Linked DNA regions of Homo sapiens: regions 2 and 3 are each linked to region 1. Evidence: promoter capture Hi-C in human tissues and cell types (Jung and others, 2019). All regions are on one chromosome and are shown on one strand. Each heading gives the region's core, a stretch centred on a gene start or on the middle of the fragment in contact. The rest is flanking DNA. Distances are from core to core; before and after follow the strand shown. Region 1 holds the start of SYF2 (SYF2 pre-mRNA splicing factor). Region 2 holds the start of PAFAH2 (platelet activating factor acetylhydrolase 2). Region 3 overlaps MAN1C1 (mannosidase alpha class 1C member 1).

Region 1 (3,267 bases), core at 567-3,066:
AATAATTTTCATATATTCCTCTTATATCCAGCACCTTACTTATCTTAGTAACTTTAGCACTGTTAGTAATTCTGGCATTGCCTCTCTGCTGAGCATGTAAGAGTAAACAAGATGGGTGGACTCTGCTGTTCTCCAGTAATAACGCTGATGAGAAAAATAGAAAATCAACAGACAAAAATAAAACTTATGCAATTGGAGAGAATTAAAATAGTGTCAAATGACAGTACTAAAAGTGAGACAGGGTAGTCAGGGAAGACCTGCTTCTATTTTTAAAAATTTATTTTTATGGCCAGGCACAGTGGCTCATGCCTGTAATCCCGGCACTTTGGGAGGCTGAGGTGGGCAGATCATGAGGTCAGGAGTTCGAGACCAGCCTGGCCAACATGGTGAAACCCTATCTCTACTAAAAATACAAAAATTAGCTGGGCATGGTGGCAGGCACCCGTAATCCCAGCTACTCGGGAAGCTGAGGCAGGAGAATCGTCTGAACCCGGGAGCCGGACGTTGCAGTAAGCCGAGATCGGTGCCACTGCACTCCAGCCTGGGTGATAGTGCAAGACTCTGTCTCAAAACAAAAAAACAAAAAAAAATTACTTTTATTTTTTAATTTAGAGACTGATTCTTACTTTGTTGTCCAGGCTGGTCTTGAACTCCTGGGCTCAAGCAATCCTCCCGCCTCCGCCCCGCAATGTGCTGGGATTGCAGCCATGAACCACCACACCAGGCCAAGGGCAAGACCTGCTTCTTGGAGAAAGTGACAACACCTTAAGCTCTAAATGGAAAGAACTTTCCACTCATGGGAATGAATGGCACTGCAGGTTTTTCCTGCTTACTGCAGACAAAACCAATTCACTGAAAAGTGCTACTGCAGTATACAGTTGTATTAACCTGAGGCTGGCCTCAGGGAAGAAGGGTTACCACTCAAGTAAGTTTTCCTGAAGGGTCAGCTCAGAGGTTAGGGTATTTCATAGTTTGGTGTGGGCAGGGCACTAGGGAATGGATGCTGCTGATTGGTTGGAGATGCAATCACAGGGGTGTGGACTACACTCCTCAACAGCTGAGTCCGCCTCTTGGGGGAGGAGTGGGACAGAAGAAGCGGTTGGGTCATGGGTCACGAGTCTGGGTGGGGTCAGTTAGTTGCCAGAATGCGAAAGTCTGAAAAATGCCTCAAAAGACCAATCTTAGGTGCTACGATAACGTTATCTACAGGAATAATTGGGGAAGTTACACATCCGATGTCCTCCGAAACAATGGCTGGTTATCGTTTACTACATTTTAGCAGAATTCTCCCCTCATAATCCTAACCTCCCGGTCTTTCATTAGTTTTATAAAGGCAGTTTCAGCCCCCAAACAAGGAGGGGCCCTGTTTAAGGAAGGGACTATGATCATCCTTGCTTAAAAGTTAAACTATAAATTCTCCCATGGTTAGCTTGGTTTATGCCCAGGAATGAGCGAAGACAGCCGGCCTGCGAGGCTAGAAGCAAGATGGAGTGAGCCATGTTAGATTTCTCTCACTGTCTTTGCAAAGGCGGTTTCCAGGAACAGCGTGCAGAATAGGGGGCTATCAGGCTCCTTTTGGTCATTTCTTCCTAGCCGTCCGATTCTGAGCTCTTCCCAACCCTTTTCTTGGCGACTTACCTCCCGCTGTCCTGGCCCACGCTACTTTTCGCGGCTGCGCAAGACCCTACGCAATCCAAAATATTTCATAGCTAAAAGGGTCCCAACTTCCGGAGACCTCCCGGAAGGGGCGGGGCTTATGGTAGCCCATTCGTACGTATCGGCCCGTTTGTCTGAAGGTTGACGGAAGTGCTCTATCTTGTTGCCGGAAGTGGGAAGAGAGAAAGGTTGTGATGGCGGCTATAGCTGCATCCGAGGTGAGTTCCACCCACCGTACACCGGGGGTTTTGTTGGTGAGGGTTCCGGGGAGCGGCCTGGAGAGAGGTGGAGGCGAAGTCTAGTTTCGCTTCAGGGAGGCTCAGACACTGTGGGGTCAAGTCGGCGGTGGAGGCCCTAGGCCCAGCCTGTGGGGACCGGCGGGGACTCGGCCTGGGCAGTCCTGGGAGAAGCTGAGCCGGCTCTGCCTGAAGCCAGTTCTCCTTGTCGCAGGTGCTGGTGGACAGCGCGGAGGAGGGGTCCCTCGCTGCGGCGGCGGAGCTGGCCGCTCAGAAGCGCGAACAGAGACTGCGCAAATTCCGGGAGCTGCACCTGATGCGGGTGAGTAGTCTTGGAGGCCGGCTTAGATCCGTCATCTGGCCAAGCCTGTGCGCTTTTGTAGAGGGGACGAGGAAGCCACACCACTGCGTCTGACAGACCAACAGAGCAGGATCATCTGAGAGGAAAGCTCTGTTCGGTGGTACTCAACCCTGGCAGCACATTGGGATCATTCTGAGAACATTTGAAAATATAACTGTTCACTCCAGCCCCTCTCCCACCCACATCCAATTTAATGTATCTGGGTTAGGTTTGGGAGTCTCCATTACTAACAACCTCCCTGCTCCGTGATTCCAACAAATTCTTCATTTTACCTAGGGAAATATGTAGAGCTAGAGACAGGAAGAAACTTGTCTAGTGTCAGTAAGAGACCTGGTTCACTTTAAAAAATAATAATCTTCTGTCAGAATCTGTTTGAGTGAAAAGAAAATAATCATCTGTTTTTGGGACTTCTGGGGGAAAAGAATAAAAAGAAAATAAAAAAAATGGCAAACTTTTGAAAGTCTACAGTGTGGTAGTTCAGCCAGTTGATAGGGAATCTGATGTTTAAGTGCCCTGGAGGTGCAGAGGAGGAGAGAGGAATGCAGTTTGTGGGTCTCCAGGGGGTGCCTCATGTAGTAGGTGACACCTAAACTACTGTTTGAAAGCCAGACAACTAAAGGAGTTAGAGAAAGAGATATCCAAGCAAAGGGAACAAATTCAAAGAAAGAGAATTTGTATTAGGGATAAGAGTCCAGCAAATAGCTTGCTGCAGTTGGAGCAGAGAAAGAGAAAAGCAGCCCCTGTTTCACCATGGAGTGACCTGACAGCTAGGCCATGGTTTCACAAAATCCCAAAATCACTCTGACTGTTGTAGTGAGACAAAACAAAGAAGACTTTTCAAATTACAAGAATGACCACATATTTCTTTCTTCTGACTAACACCAGTGACTGTTATTAACAAATACAGCATTAGTCTCACTCCGTTACTTCTGCCTCCTATATAAAAATGTAAGATACTGGGCCGGGTGCGGTGGCTCACGCCTGTAATCCCAGCACTTTGGGAGGCCGAGGAGG
Region 2 (3,267 bases), core at 344-2,843, 770 kb before region 1:
ACAGCACGGATTAATGGGCCAAAGGGAGCCGCTCTCTGATCTGCGCTAAGCTTTTCAGGTTCTGTGGCCACCGCCATCAGCCACAGATTTAATGAGATCCGAGGCTTAATTACCACAGTGCAGGGCTGCCAGCACTCTCTCCTGATGACTTTATCTTGGCTCCTGGAAGGATGGGGGTGACAACAGTGTGTCGGCAGGAGAGGAGAGCCTAAAGCAGGGACTCTGGACCCTGGTGTTTCGGGGGGATGTGGGCTGCAAGAGTAGGGTGGAGGGGGCGACTGCAGGACTCAGTACCTGACCTCAAAGAGCTCACAATGTGTCAAGAGTTAAGACCTCTAATACAGGAGATACCCAAGGCAGTGTGAGTCGACTCACATGTGCGAGGCACACACAGATGTCGGCGGAAACTTTGGAGGCATGAACAAAGCTCCCAGAGGAGGGGCGCTGAAGGGTGGGGGGTGGGGCGTGGGGGAGTGCAGGTTGGAGAAGACCTTGAATGTCAGGCTAAGCAGTTGGGACTTCACTTCATAGGTAGTAGAGGGCCGTTGAACGTTTTTGAGCTGCCTGAACGATCCAAATTTCCTATAGAAGTTTACAGAACTCCTGAGGATGGGCTCTGCCTAACGCCCACTCCCCCGAGAATACTCTCCTTCCATCCCTCACACTTAGCTGCAGCCAGCACTGAACTTAATGCCATACTCTGAAACGTCCTTCACAGTCTCTGTACTCCTGGCTACGTTCTTTCCTTATATCGGGTCTCAATGTTAACAAACATCACTCCCTCTAAAAAGCCTTGCGGACACCGCCCTTTTCCCCCAAGCCTGGCCAGAGGCCCCTTTTCAAGGCTCCCACGCTTGCTGTGTCTCCCCATGAGATCACGGCTCTGTGCTGTCATTATTCATTTGTCTGAATTCTCTGCTAGACTGTGATTCTGTTGAGGCTAGGAGCGGTATCTTGTCCATCAGTGTCGCTAAGAACCAGCATTAGACAGTAATGTGGGATGGATGCGGCCCAGCAGATTACTCGGGTTCCTCCCCTTTCTCTGCCAGGGAGTCTTTTGAGGACAATGGAAAATCACAGGTGTCAACAGATGCAGGCTGGTAGGGAATGTCCCCTTAATTTGAATGATCAGTCTATTATTCTTACAGGAAGCAAAGTGTGCAGAAGACACAAAACAAACTCCAACCTCCTCCCACCTCCTTGAGAATAAAGCGAAGCGGGGACCATTTCTAGGCACGCCTGAGGACTATTTGAGGAGGGTGAGGCGGAGGGTTACGCACGGGACTAAGGCAAAACCCTCCGCTCGAGAGCAGAAATCGCGGCGGCACCTCTTCAGGCCACCAGGGGGAGGAATCACACCGCATCCCAGGCCTTGGGCGGTTTCGCACGACCACGCGGGGCTGGACGGTCGCGTAGAACTCTGGGAGGTGTAGTTTTAGAGTTGTAATGCGCAATCTCGCGCACTGTACATCGGGAATTGTAGTTCTAGATTGAGGAACGAGAAGTGCTTCCAAGCGTCCATTTTGAGCCTTGGAAACTACGACGACCAAAGGGCCACGGGTTCATGGGTCGTTTCTCATTTCCGTCGAGTTAAACGTCTGGGGCTGCTTCTGAGGAATCAGCTTGACTGGGTAAGTTTGATTGGAGAAAACACCTATATCTCAATTGAGCTTCCTGCAGACTTTTGTATTCTGGCCCGGTTTGGGGCCTCGGCGTCTCTCAGTCATAGGAATTGCACATTAATCTTCGTCCTTTACGTTTCCTATTCAGACACCTGTAGCCACCCGCTCCCTTGACCCTCCCACGGTCGCCTCGCACTTTTAACGGCCAGTGCCCCTGGAATCCCCACTGAGCTCCCGTCCCAGGACCCAGCCCCCGCAGCCCCACCTTGGACCCCACAGCCCTACCCTGATTCCTCGGCCCTACCTTCACCCTGCAGCCTCACATCCCTGAACCCCGGGCTTCTTTATGCTCCTCCACCCTTTGTGTACTTTACTCTTACTCTCAGTTTTCTGTTTTTCATGGCGGTGGAAGAAGGGTCCCCATTCCTTCTTTCCGATCCGCGATTACCCTGGACTCGAAGTCAGCAGACCCGGTTCTAGGCCAGCTCTGCCTCTCACCCTCTGTGACCTTGGGCAAATCATACAACTCTGGGACTCAGTTTCTTCCTCTCTAAAACGGAGATGACTGTTGCTCCATCAGTCTCAGGTGAGGAGTGTTGAGGAGCCAACAAGCTAGTATGTGTGAAGATGCCTTGTAAACTGTAAGACCTTCACAAGAGACAGAGATTATTTTTATCACAATTATTAATGCTCTGGAACACTCTTATCAGGCCTCTTCTCTAGCTCTGCCACCTTGTTGCTCAATCTCATCCCTCGAGTGCTTGGTGTCTTCATTGTCTACGAGCTGGATGATATTTCCTCACTTCCTCCAGAGACCAAAGGTCAGGCCAATGAGCTTTTAGTCTTCAGAGAGCTTTGTCTGAAAGGAAGCACAAGAGAAGTGCTTATCTTGGACTGTATCTTGAAATAGCCAGTGATGAAAGTGTCACACAGCTGGCAGAGCAGCAGTCCTCTGCTCACCAGAAACAGGGTCCCAGCAGGAGAGGACAGCTGCAACCTAAGCCCCATCCATTCCCTCTGGGCTCCTCTGGGCCTGTTCAGTAGACACTGGCTTTGGTAGGGGTGTCTGAGGCCTGAAAAGGCTGCTGGGAAAGAATCTGTTTTGCCAAAGGGCTTAATCCAGGAAAAATGAGAGACCTTGGCTAGGAAAGAGAGACATAGCATTGTTAATTAGTTCCTAACATTTTATAAGCACTGAAAATGCACCAGGCCCTAGGCAATATTTTCACTTACGAAGTATCCATTTTACGTATAAGGAACTTGAGAGGCATGTAGTTAAAATAATTATAGTTGCCTCCTATGGTTATAGTACCTTCTATCCATCGAGTGCTTTACATGCATTATTTAATCCTCATCAACAATCTCGTGAGTAGTTACTATTTCTTTTTTTTTGAGATGGAGTCTCGCTCTGTCGCCCAGGCTAGAGTGCAGTAGCGCGATCTCGGCTCACTGCAAGCTCCGCCTCCCGGGTTCACGCCATTCTCCTGCTTCAGCCTCCCAAGTAGCTGGGACTACAGGCGCCCGCCACCAGGCCCAGCTAATATTTTGTATTTTTTTTAGTACAGACAGGGTTTCACCGTGTTAGCCAGGATGGTCTCGATCTCCTGACCTCCTGATCCGCCCGCCTCGGCCTCCCACCGCGCCC
Region 3 (3,267 bases), core at 472-2,971, 540 kb before region 1:
CCAGTCTTAGAGCATGTGGGAGGGTCGCAGGGTGTAAAATGCCTGGCTGGGAGGGGACTGTCCTGTCAATCTTCTCACCGGTTCATTGCAGGGGGTGGGAGCAAGTCTCGGCCCATCTGGCCCCGCTGCCCGCAGCACCCTCGCTCGGCCGTGAGAGAGCCGGGGGCTGGTGACCAGCGGCCTGTGAATAATCCAGGGCTTGTCTTACCTCCAAGGCTTCGTAGTACATATTTTTAGCCTCCATATCTGTCTTGCCCGACATCAACCAGGATTTGATCAAATATTCATAAAAACTGTCCCCGAGTCCTCCAACTGAGACATGGTCTGTGAAGGGAAAGAGGACAAGAACATTATCTCCATCTGCCGCCGGCTCTCACGGGGCAGGGCCTCGCACACCCGCCTGACCTCAGGGGCCCGGTGCCTGTACGGGTAGGAAGCGGGCATCTCGCCAGCAGCCACCGAACCTGGAATGGGTACTGCGAGGCAGACACAGCCTGCGACTTGGAGGAAACCAGGGCTGTCTAGAGAGCGCTCATCCTGCACAAAAGTGCACGGGCTCATCCGGCGGGTGCTATAAATCACCTCGCCTTAGCAGGCTGGGGACGGCAGGGCCTCTGGTTATTAACTGTAAGTGAGTTGCATTTCTTTACAAAGATAATCTGGTGGCAGGGAGTTCAGAGATTTTTATTACCCAGTGACAAACATGATAATTAATGCTGGGTAGCTTCATAAAAGGCCACGGGAAAGAGGAAGAAAAACCTTAATTTAGCTGGCCAAGCCCTCAAGTAGAGCCACTCTGGAAAAACAGAGTTTAAATTTAGCAAATTGAGATAAATGGAGTTCAAAGGAGCGGGAAAGAGAAGAATTGAGTTGGAACACCCCCTCTCTGCCCTGGTGGCCTCTGCCTGCTGGACAGTGGGCCAGCCAAGGAGCAGGGCCTCACAGGCTGTGGCTGAACCAGAGGTCTCTCCACCCAGGGCCGTCCCAGGAGGAAGACGGGTTGCCCGAGGAACACTTCACCGCAGACGCAAGACAGAAAACACTTCGCTCCCAGGCTTTGAAAATTAACAACAGGGAAACGTAAAGGCATTTGATAGATTTAACAAAGAACAAACCAGTTCTGTGTTCTGATTCACTTAAGCAGAGAGACAGAGAGAAGAAAGAAAATGGGGGTGGACTGAAGGCGGGGCGGGGGGAATGGGCAGAGTGTTTTCAACTCCTCAGCAGAAGAAGGGGGCAGACAGAGAGGGGAGAAGGAAAGTGGGCGGGGGGAAGAGGGACAGAAAGAGAGAACACGTCAACAGCTACCATTTATTGTGGGCCAGGAGCCTCAATGTATTATTTATAACTTAATCTTCCTGGGCACCCTGCAAGGCAGGTGCTATCGGCCCCATTTCCCAGGTGGGAGAACGGCAACTGGGCCTAAATGGCTCATCCAAGACCATCAAGCTGGTGAAAGGCAGAGCCTCACCTTCCACAGCTGCACAAAGTCAACCAGAGAGTGAAGACAGAGATACGTAGAGAAAGAAAGACAAATGTGAGGACCAAGGGACCAAAAGACAGGGCAAAGACAGATGGGACCCAGGAATGGGGGTCGAGAGGAGGCCAGCCACATGGTACACTCGCCCTTCCGGCCCCCTCCAGCCCTGATCCAGAAATAAGTCCTGGCCCAGCAAGTGTTCCAGAGCGGACCAGCATCTGCAAAAATTGGAACAGACAAGATGAAGCATGTGCTTTGGGGAGGAGCTGGAAAGGGCTGGGGTGGGCTGGACTATGCTCTGGTGTGGAGGGAAGAGAGAAGTGGCACCTCTCTCCTTCCTAGGTGCCCCACAGAAGAGAAGGGCTGGGCCAGGCCTGGCATGTTGAGGAGGGGCAGGTCTGTTGCAGAGGAGGGGCCGGGGAGGCTGGAAGTCATGGGTTGTCCTCTGCTCAGAGCCCTTCTCCAGCCCCGTCATGGGCACGGCAGCTACGAGCACTGTCACCTCTCGGTGTGGCGCACCCTCCCCACCTCATTCCCCACGCGGGGGCTCAGGCATTCTCACAAGCCTGCTCCCGGTCCCTCCCCATAGGGTGGCCACGGGGATTAAGTGAAACAAGGCCAGGCACCATCTGAAGCCCTCGGCGGCAGCACTCCCCTTGGGTGGTGGGCCCCCCTTGCCATCGGGTGCCCGCCGGGTGTGCGATGAGTGCCTGCGTACGGGTCTGCCTCCCTCACTAGCTCGTGGGCTCTTTGTGGGGAGGGATTGCATGCGACTCCCGCTCTGTGCCCAGTAACTACACGGCGCACAGAGATGCCCATGGAGTGCTGAGCAGGTGAATGGAAGGGAGGCCTGGGCTCTGCCGGGATGGGAGGCTTGGGCTGTGCCAGGAAGGGCCTGGAATGCCAAGCCAAGGAGTTTAGCCACAATCACGCGGTGGTGGAGTGTGTGCGTGACAAGGTCCAGGCTTCCTCTGGAGGGGCACGCAGGGGAGGGAGCCAGGTCATTAGGGTCCGCGGTGTTGAGATGCAGCTGCCTCTCAGGGGCACTTATGTGGGCATCTCACATGTGAAAGTCCCACTGCTTTACAGCTTGTGTGTGTGTGTGTGTGTATGTATGTATGGGGTGTGGGGTGAGTGTGTATGTGTGGTGAATGAATGTGTGTGGTGTATGTAGGTGTATGGGGGCGTGTGTGTGTGCTGAGGGGTATGGGTGTGTGGATGTGTGTGTAGGGAGAGTGTGTGTGTGTCAAGGAGTGTGGTGTGTAGTGTATGAGGGGACTATGTGTAGTGTGTGGGGTGTGTGCATGAGGCGAGTGTGTGTAATGTGTGGGGTGTGTGTGTGGAATGTGTGAGGGGAGTGTGTAGTGTGTGAAGGGAGTGTGTGGTGTGTGTGTGGGAGGGAGTGTGGGTGATAGGTGTGTGTGTGGGAGTGTGGGTGGTGTGTAGTGTGTGTGGGAGTGTGGGTGGTGTGTAGTGTGTGTGCCTGAGGGGAGTGTGTAGTGTATGTATATGTGAGGGGAGTGTGTGTAGTGTGGGGGTGTGTGTAGGGGAAGTGTGTGTGTGTAGTGTGTAAGGGGAGTGTGTATGTGAGGAAAGTGTGTGTAATATGTGTGTGGTGTGTGTGAGGGGAGTGTGTGTAGGGAGAGTGTATGTAATGTGTGTGGTGTGTGTGAGGGGAGTGTGGATATGTGTGAGCGCAGTGTGTGTAATGTGTGTATGTGTGAGGGGAGTGTGGATGTATGTGAGGGGACTGTGGGTGTGTGAGGGGAGTGTATGTAGGGGGAGTG

What was found. Contacts are between HindIII fragments. The study calls those that stand out against the background at their distance.
Region 2: a contact is called between the fragment with the promoter of PAFAH2 here and the fragment with the promoter of SYF2 in region 1, in 1 of the 25 tissues and cell types used here (heart left ventricle).
Region 3: a fragment that was not itself captured here is called in contact with the fragment with the promoter of SYF2 in region 1 in 1 of the 25 tissues and cell types used here (aorta).

What each region holds. Positions count from the first base shown.
Region 1 is chr1:25,231,051-25,234,317 of GRCh38, reverse strand. SYF2 (SYF2 pre-mRNA splicing factor) reads left to right here and starts at 1,816. Exons shown (of 7, transcript NM_015484.5): 1 at 1,816-1,874; 2 at 2,107-2,214. The coding sequence starts at 1,851. LOC124903881 (a long non-coding RNA gene) reads right to left here and starts at 1,729. Exons shown (of 2, transcript XR_007065555.1): 1 at 1,639-1,729. RefSeq lists enhancers at 1,359-1,608, 793-1,706, 1,849-1,998. The HindIII fragment of the contact is 38,585 bases long and covers 1-3,267 here.
Region 2 is chr1:25,996,389-25,999,655 of GRCh38, reverse strand. It overlaps PAFAH2 (platelet activating factor acetylhydrolase 2), which reads left to right and starts at 1,593. Exons shown (of 11, transcript NM_000437.4): 1 at 1,593-1,631. RefSeq lists enhancers at 1,448-1,497, 1,508-1,597, 1,768-1,847. The HindIII fragment of the contact is 6,472 bases long and covers 1-3,267 here.
Region 3 is chr1:25,768,714-25,771,980 of GRCh38, reverse strand. MAN1C1 (mannosidase alpha class 1C member 1) reads right to left here. Exons shown (of 12, transcript NM_020379.4): 8 at 209-324. Among named protein-coding and RNA genes, the nearest start is that of SELENON, 30 kb to the left of the region's middle. RefSeq lists an enhancer at 1-145. The HindIII fragment of the contact is 8,181 bases long and covers 1-3,267 here.